Regions from separate parts of the Homo sapiens genome. Here region 1 is linked to region 2. Evidence: promoter capture Hi-C in 16 types of primary human blood cells and fetal thymus (Javierre and others, 2016). All regions are on one chromosome and are shown on one strand. The core of a region is centred on a gene start or on the middle of the fragment in contact, and the rest is flanking DNA. Distances in the headings are between cores, read along the strand shown.

Region 1 (6,896 bases), core at 1,440-3,939, 340 kb before region 2:
TACCACAAAAAACAACCCTGATTACTCCTTCTATTAGATTTTATTCATTTTTTAATTTCTTTATTTATTTTACAAATTTTCTTGTAGCATCTATTGTGGGTTAGGCATTACAAAGTGCCCTAGGAACTTAATTATGTGTTTAATAAATATTTATTGAATCAACATTAGGTAAGTGGGAGAACAAAACAGAACTTCATGTCTAGGCTTTTGCAGTCCACAGAGAAGTTGCCACCATGAATTGTCTTTCATCTGAGACCTGAAGGATGAGCCATGAAACAAAGTTCATTGGTGCTCTGGTTTATGATGGATGACTGGACCCTTCCCTGAGGTAACGGGTGATGCAAAGCACAGGGCAGGGCGTTTATTGCTGTCCTAGCACTGTGATTGCAAATGCTTTGCTTGTTGGTTGAGTGGTCTCTGTGCCATGTGCTATATCTCAGGTGACCTGAGGGGGTCTGGGTGATTAAGAAGTTACTTGGGAAGCCTTTAAGCCACTCCTTGGGAAAGTTCAACCTCTTAGCTGAATCTGGCAGCTAGGAAGTTGGTTCTGGAACTTCGAATGATGACTACTGGAGAGAGAGTTCACTCTGGCTTGGGTTATTTGTCTATCTGTTCAGTATCTCGTATCTCTTTCAATTAAGTCATTCTTATCAGCATTCCAATGCACTTTATCATTTCTAACTTGAAAACCAATCCACACCCCTCCAGGTACCACTGTATACTCCACTTCCCTCTGTTGGTAACTTTTTTTTTTTTTTTTTTGAGACGAAGTCTCGCTCTGCCGCCCAGGCTGGAGTGCAGTGACGCGATCTCCACTCACTGCAAGCTCCGCCTCCCGGGTTCAGGCCATTCTCCTGCCTCAGCGTCCCGAGTAGCTGGGACTACAGGCGCCCGCCACCACACCCGGCTAATTTTTTGTGTGTTTTTAGTAGAGACGGGGTTTCACCGTGTTAGCCAGGATGGTCTGGATCTCCTGACCTCGTGATCCGCCCACCTCGGCCTCCCAAAGTGCTGGGGTTACAGGCGTGAGCCACCGCGCCCGGCCCTCTGTTGGTAACTTTTTAAAGGAGTAGTCTACACATGGTATCTTCAGTTCTTCGTCATTCATGTCTCACTCCAATCTGGCTGCCAAACTCAGATACCCATTTTGTAGCATCCAATAGGCATTTTTCAGTCCTTATCTTACCATAGCCAACAGCATTTGATTCAGTTGTTACCCCCTTCCTCCTCATACTCTTCTGACTTTTACATCACCACCCTAACCACTGCTGCTCCTAAAACTGAAATTCTTCTGAGTCTGTCTCTCTTTCAAGGTTCTCTTTTCATATGGTCCCTAAAATATTGAATGTTTGTAAGGCTCAGTCTAGGATCTCCTCTTTTAACGCTCTATTTTCCTCCTAGGTGATAGCATTCATTCTCGTGGCTTTAAATACTACCCTTATATCAATAGCGTCAAACCTTACATTTCCAGTACTAATGAGCTTCAGGTCCATTTAGTCAAATGCCCAGTTAACAGATACGAAGATTTCAGGATAGCTCAGACTTCACATGCTCAGGAGGGGAACATTGATATTATTGATATTCTGATAGTAATCTTAATAAAAATAACTTCCACCCACCCAGTTGATAAAGAAATGTCCGTCTGTACAGTTTTCCCACTCTCACCTCCCACACTCTAGTAATTAGAAAAACCTTGTAGTTTACATAAAAATATTTTCTAATCTCTCAGTTACCTCTGCCCGAAGGCCACCTTCCAAGCTGTCCCAGCCTCTTACACCTGTTCTTGACAGCTATGCTGTGACTCATTGCAGTCCCTTTTCCACACATCACACAGGTCAAAATTTAATATGTGAACCAGGTGTATCATTTAGTTACTTCAGCCCCATTATGAACATCCTCATCCATCAAGGGCTATATCTTTCCTGTATATTCACACAAAGCAGTACTACAGAGGAATGAAGGGTGATCAATTAACATCAGGTGCAACAACATGGGTATATCTCAGAAATGTAATGTTGAGTGAAACAAGCCAAACATAAAACAGCTCTTACCTTATAATTTTATTCATATAATGCTAATAAAAGAAGTCAAAATGATCAATGCTGGTAGAAGTTAGCATTGGAGGCCGGGTGCGACGGCTCACGCCTGTAATCCCAGCACTTTGGGAGGCCGAGGTGGGCGTATCACAAGGTCAGGAGATCAAGACCATCCTGGATAACATGGTGAAACCCCGTCCCTACTAAAAAATACAAAAAATTAGCCGGATATGGTGGTGGGCACCTGTAGTCCCAGCTACTTGGGAGGCTGAGGCAGGAGAATGGCGTGAACCCGAGAGGCGCAGCTTGCAGTGAGCCGAGATTGTGCCACTGCACTCCAGCCTGGGCCACAGAGCAAGACTCCATTGCAAAAAAAAAGAAAAAAAGAAAAAAAAAAGAAGTTAGCATTGGAGTTACAAATGGATACATAATAACTACAAAGAATTGAACTGGTAATGTTCTGCAGCAGCTCCCTGGATATCTTCACTTTGTGAAAATTCATTGAACTGTATAGTTAAGGTTTGTGCCTTTTCCTTTATACAGGTTATGCCTCAATAGGAAGCTTACTTTAAAACTCAAAGAGTGTTTGGGTCTTTCACTTCTGTTATTGTTACTAACCGCTCTGTGTACATTAAAACTAAGAAATAGAAATGGTAGCATTTTCTGCTGGGTAATTATTGTGTATTTAGAAAAATGCCTAATTATATATTCAACTAACACACAAGAATGATTTCGAAAGCTTTGGCTAATATGAAAACTATGTGTTCCGAATAAATAATATCCTGTTGTCAGAAAAGTAAATAGCCAGGCCTATGATTAAATAATGTTAATACAACTATGGTAAAGAAAATAAATTAAAAACATAAACAAAGTCTAGAAATACAATATTAAAAGTGCCATTCTGGTTATTACATTGATAGGAACAATAATACTATTCTGTTTCAATGGGAAAAGCAACACAGAGGAGCTCTGAGAATCTATGTTTTACAAATCAAATTTACAATATGAAAGCTGTTCTTGGAACTGTGAGGTTTCTTAGTAATCACTTAAGGTTGAAATTTTTATTTTACATATCTAGATATAAAAGAACTGTGACACTGAATTCAGTTTTAGGACATTGGAGTTACTTGTATACAAATTTCTTATTTTTTAATTTCATGGTCATTTTTGAGACATACAATAATATGCATTTGTGGGTCAAAATTATCAAAGCCAGTAAACAAGACATATTCTGTTTGTAAAAACAAACAATAATAAATTGGTTTTGAATTTGCAAGACAATATTATTGTATTGACTTTCAGAACAAATTCTATCCCTTGAAACTTCTCAATCAATCATACAATATGAGGTGAAATATAAAATAGAAATAACCATTCAAACGTGATGTAAATTATAGCATCAATTATTTTTCTTCGGTTTGAGAGTTATGTTTATCTGGACTGAAGAATGAAGACTAATCTGAACTGAAACACTAAAGACTATCATTTGGAAGTACGATGTGAAAACTATTAATATGATTAAGCAGTTCAATTAAAACATAAATTATTCACTACGCTTGAAAACTCAGCTTTACTAAATCATTAAAAGTTCTATACATTAAAGTTAAAATTACAAATACATGTATTATCTGGTTTATGATGGATGACTGGACTCTTCCCTGAGGTAACAGAAAATATATATTTTCTGTTTTATCATCCTTATTATTTGAATGAAAGATGTTAAAGTTATACACTAATGTGGCTTTCCTCTTGTTTCTCTTCTGTTATTTTTCATAAACTTTTATGACAACTTTAGCAGCAAATCAGAATTTTTACTGATTCTCTACAGACTTAGGCAATCAAGCATATTCCTAAGATATATTTGCATACAATTTTTAGTAGGTAAGATTTTGTAATGTTTTAATGTTTCCAATGGGGGAAAAGTCTCCAAAACAAATAGGAGTTTCATTACCAGTCTAAAGACAACTTCATTTTCCTATTTTCAAACGATTAAGTCCATTTTGCAGCAGCTGATAAACATCAGCCTGAATGAGATCTTCTTTGTGAGCATGGGGGCTTGGGTAGAGAGCTGGGCAGATGGATGTTTCAGTCAGTCATGAGCATGGAGCACGACCCCTTCAAATTCCATTTCACGACTCACTTCATGTTCAGAGCTGAATTTGCATGAAAATCAAATTCATAAATTCAGCCACGGCTTTGATCAGAAATTTTTCGGTTGTTATCATTCTTTTTGAATTGTTGTAAAAGTCATGGCAGATGGTATGTTTCTGAAATGTCTACTGATGCTCATCTTCCTTCTCTCAACACAGCACAGTACTAGAAAATCGTTAGCACCTTCCTAGGACAAGGCCTTCTTAGAACCTGAATGATCCTTAGATAACACCTTCATTTCATAAATGAGGAAAGTAAAGTTACAATCTGAAACAGGACCTGTCTCTCTTCCTCCCAGCCCAGTGACCTTTCAGATACACCAGTGTGGTCTCCAAGAAAGTGTGCAGTAAAGCCTGGGAAACATTGTGAGTAATGAGAAACTTTGCTATAGAAATGATCAAGAGAAGATAAAGCAATTTACGTACACACACATACACACTCACACACACAGACACATATCTATGCAACTTATGTGTTATATATTTATATAGCATATTTATATTTACATCTACATATACTTCATAAAAATTATAAAAGGAAATAAATCAATTTACATACATTTTCAATTGCTTTATATTTCTTTTATGTATGATTAATGCATATTTATATATAGATCTCCCTATAAATTATATTTACAACAATTAGCTAAAATAACCTGTTATATGAGAGCACAGAGTTTGGAAAGCAGAAACATTTGAATGCCAGATCTGCCACCTAACACCTCTGTAGCTGTATGACCTTGGACATGGTATTTAAAATTTCAGAGACTCAGTGTTTGTTGTTGCTTTTAATATATACGGGGCTGGACTGTGGACTAGATAAGTTAATGTTTATAAATGTTTACCATTTATCATGCCTGATGCATGGCAGTTAAGATGCTTATTTTCCAAGTTTCAAAAAAATTTCCCATGCATGCGAGCAAGTACAATAACCCATATCATTTGCCAGGAAATAGGCCAATTGCTTTTTTTTTTTCTTTTTTTGGCATAGGATCACATTTATCATGTAAAGTTGGTATGACTGACATCATGGTTACAGATAAGGACATAAATCCTTAGAGGGGTGAAATGGCCTGCCCAACGTATACTGAAAGTAACTGGTATAGCTCTTATCTACGTCACTAAGATGTAAATGGAAAAGTAATTTCAATTTAAGCCACACAAAAAGCTCTAATTCAAGGACTGCAAGTGTGTTTGCCTCAGTAATCCATTTTCCAAAATTAACCTCATTCTTACAATTTCCACTTTCCTGAAATATTAAAATACTTTAAGTTTCTACTCTGATATTTATTGCTCAGATGAATATAATATAGTCATGAGATTACACAAAGACCTTCAGATCTCTTTTTGCCTGACATAACCTATAGACAGGTTCTTAAACAATGATCAGCATTGCAATAAACAGAAATTAGATACCTATAAGTTGGAACTTTAATCACACACTATACTGTGATCTGAAATCTCCATAATCATTAATACATTTCTAGGCCAGGACCCAAGACTCTATTTAGTACTATAATTTAGAAAGCATCTCTTCTGCATTTAACATATAGGCAACATGCCAAGAAAGGAAACAAAAATGGTCTTGATTTGTTTGCCAGCTGGCACTTTGGGCTGAATGGCCAGCTACCAAAGAACTGCCATTTGTCACAAAGGAAAACAAAATGAATTCCTTGCTAAGTGTACATACTTCTTACTGTTGAAAAATTATCCTAAGAATAAACTAATTGCCTCTGTAAAACACAAGTTCATCTCACCCAGCATCCATCTGGAAACTCTGAGAGAGACAAATATAAAATTGCTGGCAGTAGGGATTTTGGATTTAATACAACTATTGATATATGGCAATTAATAACCTTTTTCTGTTGAAATTGTTTCAGTAGAGTTAGTACCCCATTTTTACTGTAAGTAATTTTCTTTTATGAATGCTGTTAATTAAATAGGGAAATTATATGGCTGTGTTATATGTATGTATATAACAAAATCCTGTGTGTGTGTATATATATAATTTAATTGGCACCTGAAGTACCTATATATTGTAAAATTACTTAAAACCCACAATAGTCTCCTTCATACAATTATAATAAATAATTCCTGGTCATTTTAATTAAATTATTTACAAGCATCAGAGATATTTAGAAACACATGAGGCTTGCTTTTGAAAATAGGATTTGAGATTGAATTCATGCAGGTAAAACACTAAAATTTAGTCATATCCATAGGCAAAACAAAAAATGTAAAATGTTGAGCAGTTATTTTCTGGCTACCACTAGTTAACCAGTTGTCATTTCAAGTATTTAGCTCAGGTTTTTCTCTGGAAGATGTGTCAATTTGGAATTTCTTATCTCTTCCGACTCTCCACATCATTCAACTTGAAGTTTGAAAAGGAGCACTGACATAGAAGATTCCACACAAGTAGATATTTTAAAATGGGTAAAATCTTACGAGACGGCTTTAATAATTGTCTAGTGCATTAGGAACTATATACTAGGATATGGTGCAGTAGCATCCATTACACGGAAACCTTGCATCTTAACATTCCCAACTGCCTTCTTTACAATGTTCACTTAACTCTTAAGTAATCACACTTGAGTTGTAAAGAGATCCAGGTCCAAAAATTCCACTTCATGATCATTCTATTCATAAATTATATGGGCCAGAGTGAGGGGAGAAGAGCAATTTGGGCAAATTTTTAATAAAAAAAAAATAG
Region 2 (6,851 bases), core at 2,580-5,079:
GGAAAAGAAAGTAGCTTCTAGAAAGAATTACAAGGTTGAGTTTTAACAATGTGAGAATCTGTCCAGCTGTCTCCCAGGACCCACAAGAGTGATCATCTACTTAGGCAATTTGCCTTCATCTATCCTTCAGTGCTTCTTTTAGGGTAGGTATCAGATACGGCCTTTATTTCCATCAGAGAAAAGAAAGAACACAGTGAGATGTTAACTTCTAATTAAGTCATTGGGGAGCATTAATTATTCTCAAGAGTACGGCTCAGTATACCAGTAACTAGAGAGCCTCCCTCACATAATCTGCAAGAGTTAAAATAAAAGCAAACTCTTATCAGCCTTACTACTGTACCCATTCCTTCTTTTGGGGTAAGTTGACCCCATCTTCAACCATGTCTTAATGTTCAAAAACTGGATTTATAAGAGCTATTAAAAAATAGAGAAATGTCTCTGTTCTTAATGCATGTCTCTTAGTAGCAAGCAAAGAAACCAAGAACAGCCAGTGCAGCTTCTCAAAGAGCACACCCATCTGCAAGGATCCGTCTCTAAACTTTGATGGAAGGGACACTTCAATATAATTGTAAAAGCTCATCTTGATGAGAACAAAGAGAAAAAAATTATGGCTAGTCCACTGCTTTTGAAATGTCAGACAGGATACTAGTAGGCAGGGAGCGTGGTTCATTCAACATATTTCATCTTTAGACAGATAAGTACTTAACAGGGCCACCAAAAATATGCAAGCACATGAGTCTAGTAGTTTACAGATATCTACATACACATATACGTATATACAAATGAGCACGAGTCTAGTAGTTTAGATATCTACATACACATATACCTATATACAAATGAGCACATATACATATATGTGAACATATATGTTTGTCTTTGAACAGAATCCTTCTAATGTAAAGTTTCCCTGCTGTTTAATTGGATCAATTAACATTCAAATTAAAGTGCACCTAATCCCTGAGCTGTACTGGTTTTGCAGAGTTCTGTCCCATGAAAGCTTTCAAACTGGCAACCTTGGGCTGACTCTGTAGATGACAGATTTGCTCCTGGCTCATCAGCTGTAAATAAAGGGGAAAAGTCTTTCTAGTCCTTTAATTTTATTTATTTATATTCAGTTATTTCCAATATTACTATTGGTAGTCAAGACTGACTCACTTTTTCTTAATATAAAGTCTTGTCCAGAAGAATTATTGGAGTCATTATAATACTTTAGAAATGCATATGCTGGTTGATAGTTGCTTGTCCTTACACTAAATTCCAGTCTTGCTGGGAAATATATATACACTTGTCCTTCCAAAAAGGATGAAACATATGAAGTACTTTCCACCATGGCTTGGTACAAGTAGACCTTACTTCTTCCAAAAAGAAAATACTTCTTAAATATTGAAAAATGAAATAGAAATTGAGAAATGAAATATTTTCTTTTACACATACTGCTGCAAATCATATTGTCAAAATATTCACAATAAATTACTGAGTGCAACTTTAATTATATAAGGTCATTTCATTTTATTTTTGACACTTGAAGAACAGTCAACTCCACATGCATGGTAAGCAAGAACTCCAACTTTAAATGTTTTTTATAATGAAAAATCGTATAGGTTTTGCAAGTTCATCAGATGTTTAAAAGAGCATTAGACTACTTCCTTAACAAACCAAGGCTGAAAGAATATAGAACCAGCACTGAAATTTTAAGTGTCAGTGAGGGATCCAACCAGAGCCAAGCAGACATAAATATTACACTCTCCTCAGATCTCTTTCAGCACCTTTTCTTTTCTAAGAAGATATATGGCAAAAGAAAGCTATTTAATGTTGATGTACACCCTACACTTTTTATTGAGCTTCAAGAAAACAAGCAAACATAAACAACTAGCAGCCCAAATAATTAGATTAATGTATTTTAAACCCAACTACAGGCAGTCTAGTGGAAAGACTGAATGGAGTACAGGCCAGATTTAAGCTCTGCTTTTCTTGAGGGAAGGATGCTTGGGGTGATGTGCTTTACATTGTAAGAGTGACCTCTAGTGCTTTTCTTTTTGGTTGAACTTTAGTGGTTGGAAGATGAATTACTTATGCCTTTTCTACAGAACTTCCATTTGTGTGTGGGTGTTGTTGTTATTGTTTGCTTGTATGATGCAATGTTTTTCTAATGCTACCATTATAAGATTCCAAGGTTTTGACTAGGTGAAATTATACATTTTATTGACTTATGAGATTATCACAACACTCAAACTAAAGTTGAATCTGATGTGCAGCACCTGAAGTGAGGTTCCTTCTTTCAGAGTGATGGATACCCTGTGACATTAAATGAGCCCATTCTGAACTGAAACACGAAATCACGGGAGCCAGGTACTGTGAGGGGACATTTGACTTGTGCCCATGAGTTTGTCATGTTTTTCACATATCAGAACTCTTAACATAGTCAAGTGATATGCCATAGCAAATGTCTGATTACTGCCTCTGTTCCCCAAATCTAAGCCTGATGATACAGCAGCAACATAAATTCCTGGACAGGCCTCATAGCCAGTTCTTGGAAAGCAAATGAGCTTTTCCTTTAAAATCCAAGAAAAAATAAAAAGTTGTATTTGCCAAGCTTGTTTGTCATTAATCAGGAGGGGAAAATTCTCCCATTTAGAGAATTTAAGCCAAAGATAACTTTTAAAACTTTTTCTATCTCTAATAAAGAGTGGATGAAGGGAGTCTGCCAAATTATTATGGATGATATCTAAATTATAAATAAGATTTCAATCTTCCCTAAATAGGTTCTATTTCATCAGAACATTCAATTACAAATTTATGCAGTTAAGCATTCAACCACAAAGGAATCCTACTTTTGAAAGACCACCTGACTGGTTTTCCTTTAAGCGAAATGTAGGAAGAGGCTCCTCTTTCCGGAGAGCGCTAAGTCTCATTCTCTTAGCAGCGAGGGCACAGCTCTTAATACTGAGACTCGCCTCAGCCAGTGCTGGTGCTCCTGAAGCCTGCAGTACATTTCAGTTATTAGCCTGCATTATTTTAAAGATGCAGGCAGCTACTGGTCTGCCCAATTGCAAACTTCAGAAATCTAAGCCAATGCAGCATAATGTAAAGTCTGCCAGTTGTTTTCCTCTTAGACATAATTCCAATAAAATTCAGTAGTTCTTTAAAAAAGAAGAAATGAAGATATTCACAGGCTATTCCCCCGATAAGATGCTAATTTCATGTTTTACTAGAACTTGGGCATTCTCAATGAATACTCAAAGACCAGAGGGTAAGATTCTGCGAGTAGACAAAAAGAGAAATGACACTTTGCCTATTTTGACCAGACCAAGAGGAGAGACAAGTGTTAACCGGTCACATTGGCAAGATTTTTAAGTGATGCTTGGTTTACAGCAATACGCTTTGCAGCAATCCCAGCTGCAAATAATCATCATCAAACCAACAGAATCAAAGTTTTGCAGAGAGCCCCCCAGCAAGTTTTAAATCATTTGCTGTATACTTACAGGAATTCCCAGCTTCGACTCTGTTCCAATTTTGAGTAGATAACAGAAGTAGCGTCTTGAGGACAGCTCCCGTGACAGATCCCATGTTCACATTTATTGGGCTCCCCCAAAAGATCTTGAGAGGCTCTCAGAGCGCTCCAGTCCTCTTCTCAGTAGCTCTGCCAGCTCTGTCTGGGTCTTCAGCCCCTCTAGGTCTCTGTCTCTCCCCCTCCCTTCCTCCTCACCTCCCTCCGTCTTTTCTTCTTCCCTCCTCCCTCTCTTCTCTCTCCCTCTCTCTCTCCCCGTCTCTGTCTCTCTCTTTTCTCTCTCTCTCTCACACACACCTCCCTGACTCCTCACTGAAAAGCACTCAGCATCTTTCCTAACAAGCATCCACACCGCCGAGGCCACGCCCACTCCTCGCAGCAGCGGTCCCACAAATTGGCAGCAGCATCCTTCCTTCCAAACACACAACAGCGCTCGAGCTCCGCTGCACCCAGAGGCGCGGCCTCCCGTTCGTGGGCCTCCTTGGGGCTCCCTCCCTTCTCTTCTATTTTCCAATAATCCTTAACCCTTTTCTCCCAGCTGGAGGTGTGAGTGGGGGAAGGGACAAGGCGGTGGAGCCTTCTGATTTTCTGGAGGTCTTGCATTTGCAAGAGCCAGAAAACACACTGAGCCATTCCTGATTATCCGGGAGTGCATCCAGGTAAAATTGCATTATGTTTCAAAACAAAAGCATAAAATAAGACAGAAATAACTAAGCAGCATTGGGAAATTGTAGCTAAAACCGTCCTCAGGGAAAATACTTGCTGTTGTTTTTCTCTGTTTCTATAAAACTGTACTCTTCAGCGAGGGTGCCAGGATTTTATTATGGAAATTCCCCACATGGGAACAGACATTCCTGCTTAGCAGATATTTAAAATCATCTGGTAGTAGTCTGCAAGAAATTAACATTTCTTATTTTAATGCTTCAGGTGTATAAATCCACAAATGAAATGCTTTGGCTAGATTTATGTTGATGAATGCATCATGCTGTGAATATGAAGTACCATTCTATAATCAAAATTTTTAATAACATTTCCAAAAAGGCCCAAAGTAGGAAATGAGGGAATACTGAAGAAAGGGACCTCCACCACCACCACATACACACATGCATACACATTCACACAAACACTGAACAATGTGACGATGTAATTCAGGTGACTTAAAGGAGAGAGGAGTAAAGTTGAATTTGGAAGATCAATGATTAAAGAAAAATTACTCTTTGAATGGCTGGTCCATGGATACAACTGTTTCTTGAATGGAATTTTAAAATGTCTAAATAATGGAGTTACTATCACATAACAAGAAGCATGTCACATGGTTCATAGCAGATAAATAATCTATTTAAAATAAATGTCAAGATGTTTTACTGATAATGTGCTAGATTTTATACAAATGGAAATCCTGGAGTTCTTAAGTGCCTCTTGGTAATCACAAATTGGAAGAAACATAAGCCTTTAACACCACTTTCTTATGGAATAATGAGAGTGGGTTTGTCAAAGATCAGATAGGTTTGTCAAAGAGTGAGAAAATGACAGAAATACCCGTAAGAACTAAACATGCTTGTTTAGCTCATGCCTGCAAACAAAGCAGAATGCATCTTTTTTCTTTTCCTGTTTTACAAGAGAAAACAAGAACAGAGAATTTAAATGATTCGAAGAGGTCATAGAGTTAGTAATAAATGCTGAGGACTGGATTTGGCTTTTCTGACTCCAGTTTTACTGCTCTCACCCTAGGACTTATTGCCCCTAAATCAGAGTATACCTCCTTCCTGACCCTTGTCAGTGGCAGCAAAAACCTTAGGCCCTAGGAAAACACAGCAAACACTTTGGGAGGCCAAGGTGGGCAAATCACTTGAGGTCAGGAGTTCGAGACCAGCCTGGCCAACATGGTGAGATCCCATCTCTACTAAAAATAAAAAAAATAGCAGGGTGTGGTCGCAGGCAACTGTAATCCCAACTACTTGGGAGGCTGAGGCAGGAATTCGCTTGAACCCGGGAGGCAGAGGTTGCAGTGAACCAAGATTACACCACTGCACTCCAGCCTGGCCAATAGAGCGAGACTCTGTCTCAAAAAAAAAAAAAAAAAAAAAAAGGATAAATACAATAAAATAAAGAAAGGTCATGGGTTGAGTGTTTATTCTGTGTTCCTAGACTTGCATTCCTGATTTTATTTTTTCAATCATATGCTAAGTAAAAGCAGATATAAATTAACAGTTTATGTTAACTAATTATTGAAGGAGATTAAATTTTACTGAACACATACTATATGCCATTTGTTATCTAATTGAATAATTATATCAGTCCTTTGAAGAAAATATCATGTCTGTGGGACGGTTGTGGGCTCTCCAGAAGAAAAAAGTTGTCTCGTTGTTACAATATTGTATTTAATTGTTCTCTTAAAACAAATTAGAGAATGCATCTTAAATGGATAAGTACACATAGCAAAAATGAAAAATAAACATTTTATAACAATAATAACTTCTTTGGGACAATGTATAAATTATTATAGTGACCAATACTGGCGGATTTTTCCATATCAATGGGCTACAGTAATAGAAGGAATTGGGGGCTGGCCCTCAATAGAAGACCTGAGCATTTCAAGTCACTGCAAAACCTGTCTCTGCCTGATGGCTGCAGAGGGGTAGAGAGTTGCCTAGACAAATGAAACAGTGAGTGCTTGAGATATGGTAAACAGAGAGGCCTCAGCCGGGCGCGGTGGCCCACGCCTGTTATCCCAGCCCTTTTGGAGGCCGAAGCGGGCAGATCACGAGGTCAGGAGATCGAGACCATCCTGGCTAACATGGTGAAACCCCGTCTCTACTAAAAATACAAAAAATTAGCCAGGCATGGCGGCAGGCGCCTGTAGTCCCAGCTACGTGGGAGGCTGAGGCAGGAGAATGGCATGAACCCAGGAGGCGGAGCTTGCAGTGAGCTGAGATCGAGCCACTGCACTCCAGCCTGGGCGACAGAACAAGACTCTGACTCAAAAAAAAAAAAAAACAAAACAAAACAAAACAAAAAAACCAGAGCGGCCTTGATACAAGCTTCCACTGTTGTTTTGATTAAATGACTCAATGATGCTGACCTTTCGTTTATTTATTTTATGACCCGATAGGAGAATCATGACCAAAGAGTTACTGTGGTATAACATATGACAACTATTGAATGCCTTGTGCTTAGTGGGCCCTCACTTACTTCCCAGCTTTAGATCTCTGCATTAAAACTGTACAGAGAATTGGTCTAAGCAGGCAATGTCAGAGCTTGGCCACCCAGGTTCAGTGTCTGTACAGGTTCCACCACCCACTAGCTGCACGGCCTTGGGCAAGCTGCATCAGGATAATAATCC

Evidence for each region. The method cuts DNA at HindIII sites, captures the fragments that hold promoters and counts their contacts. A CHiCAGO score of 5 or more calls a contact.
Region 1: a contact is called between a fragment that was not itself captured here and the fragment with the promoter of CNTNAP4 in region 2, in 1 of 17 cell types (megakaryocytes). The highest score is 5.0, in megakaryocytes.

What each region holds. Positions count from the first base shown.
Region 1 is chr16:76,613,357-76,620,252 of GRCh38, reverse strand. No RefSeq gene overlaps it. Among named protein-coding and RNA genes, the nearest start is that of LINC02125, 18 kb to the left of the region's middle. The HindIII fragment of the contact is 177 bases long and covers 2,601-2,777 here.
Region 2 is chr16:76,274,379-76,281,229 of GRCh38, reverse strand. CNTNAP4 (contactin associated protein family member 4) reads right to left here and starts at 3,829. Exons shown (of 24, transcript NM_033401.5): 1 at 3,483-3,829. The coding sequence starts at 3,567. The HindIII fragment of the contact is 3,956 bases long and covers 2,596-6,551 here.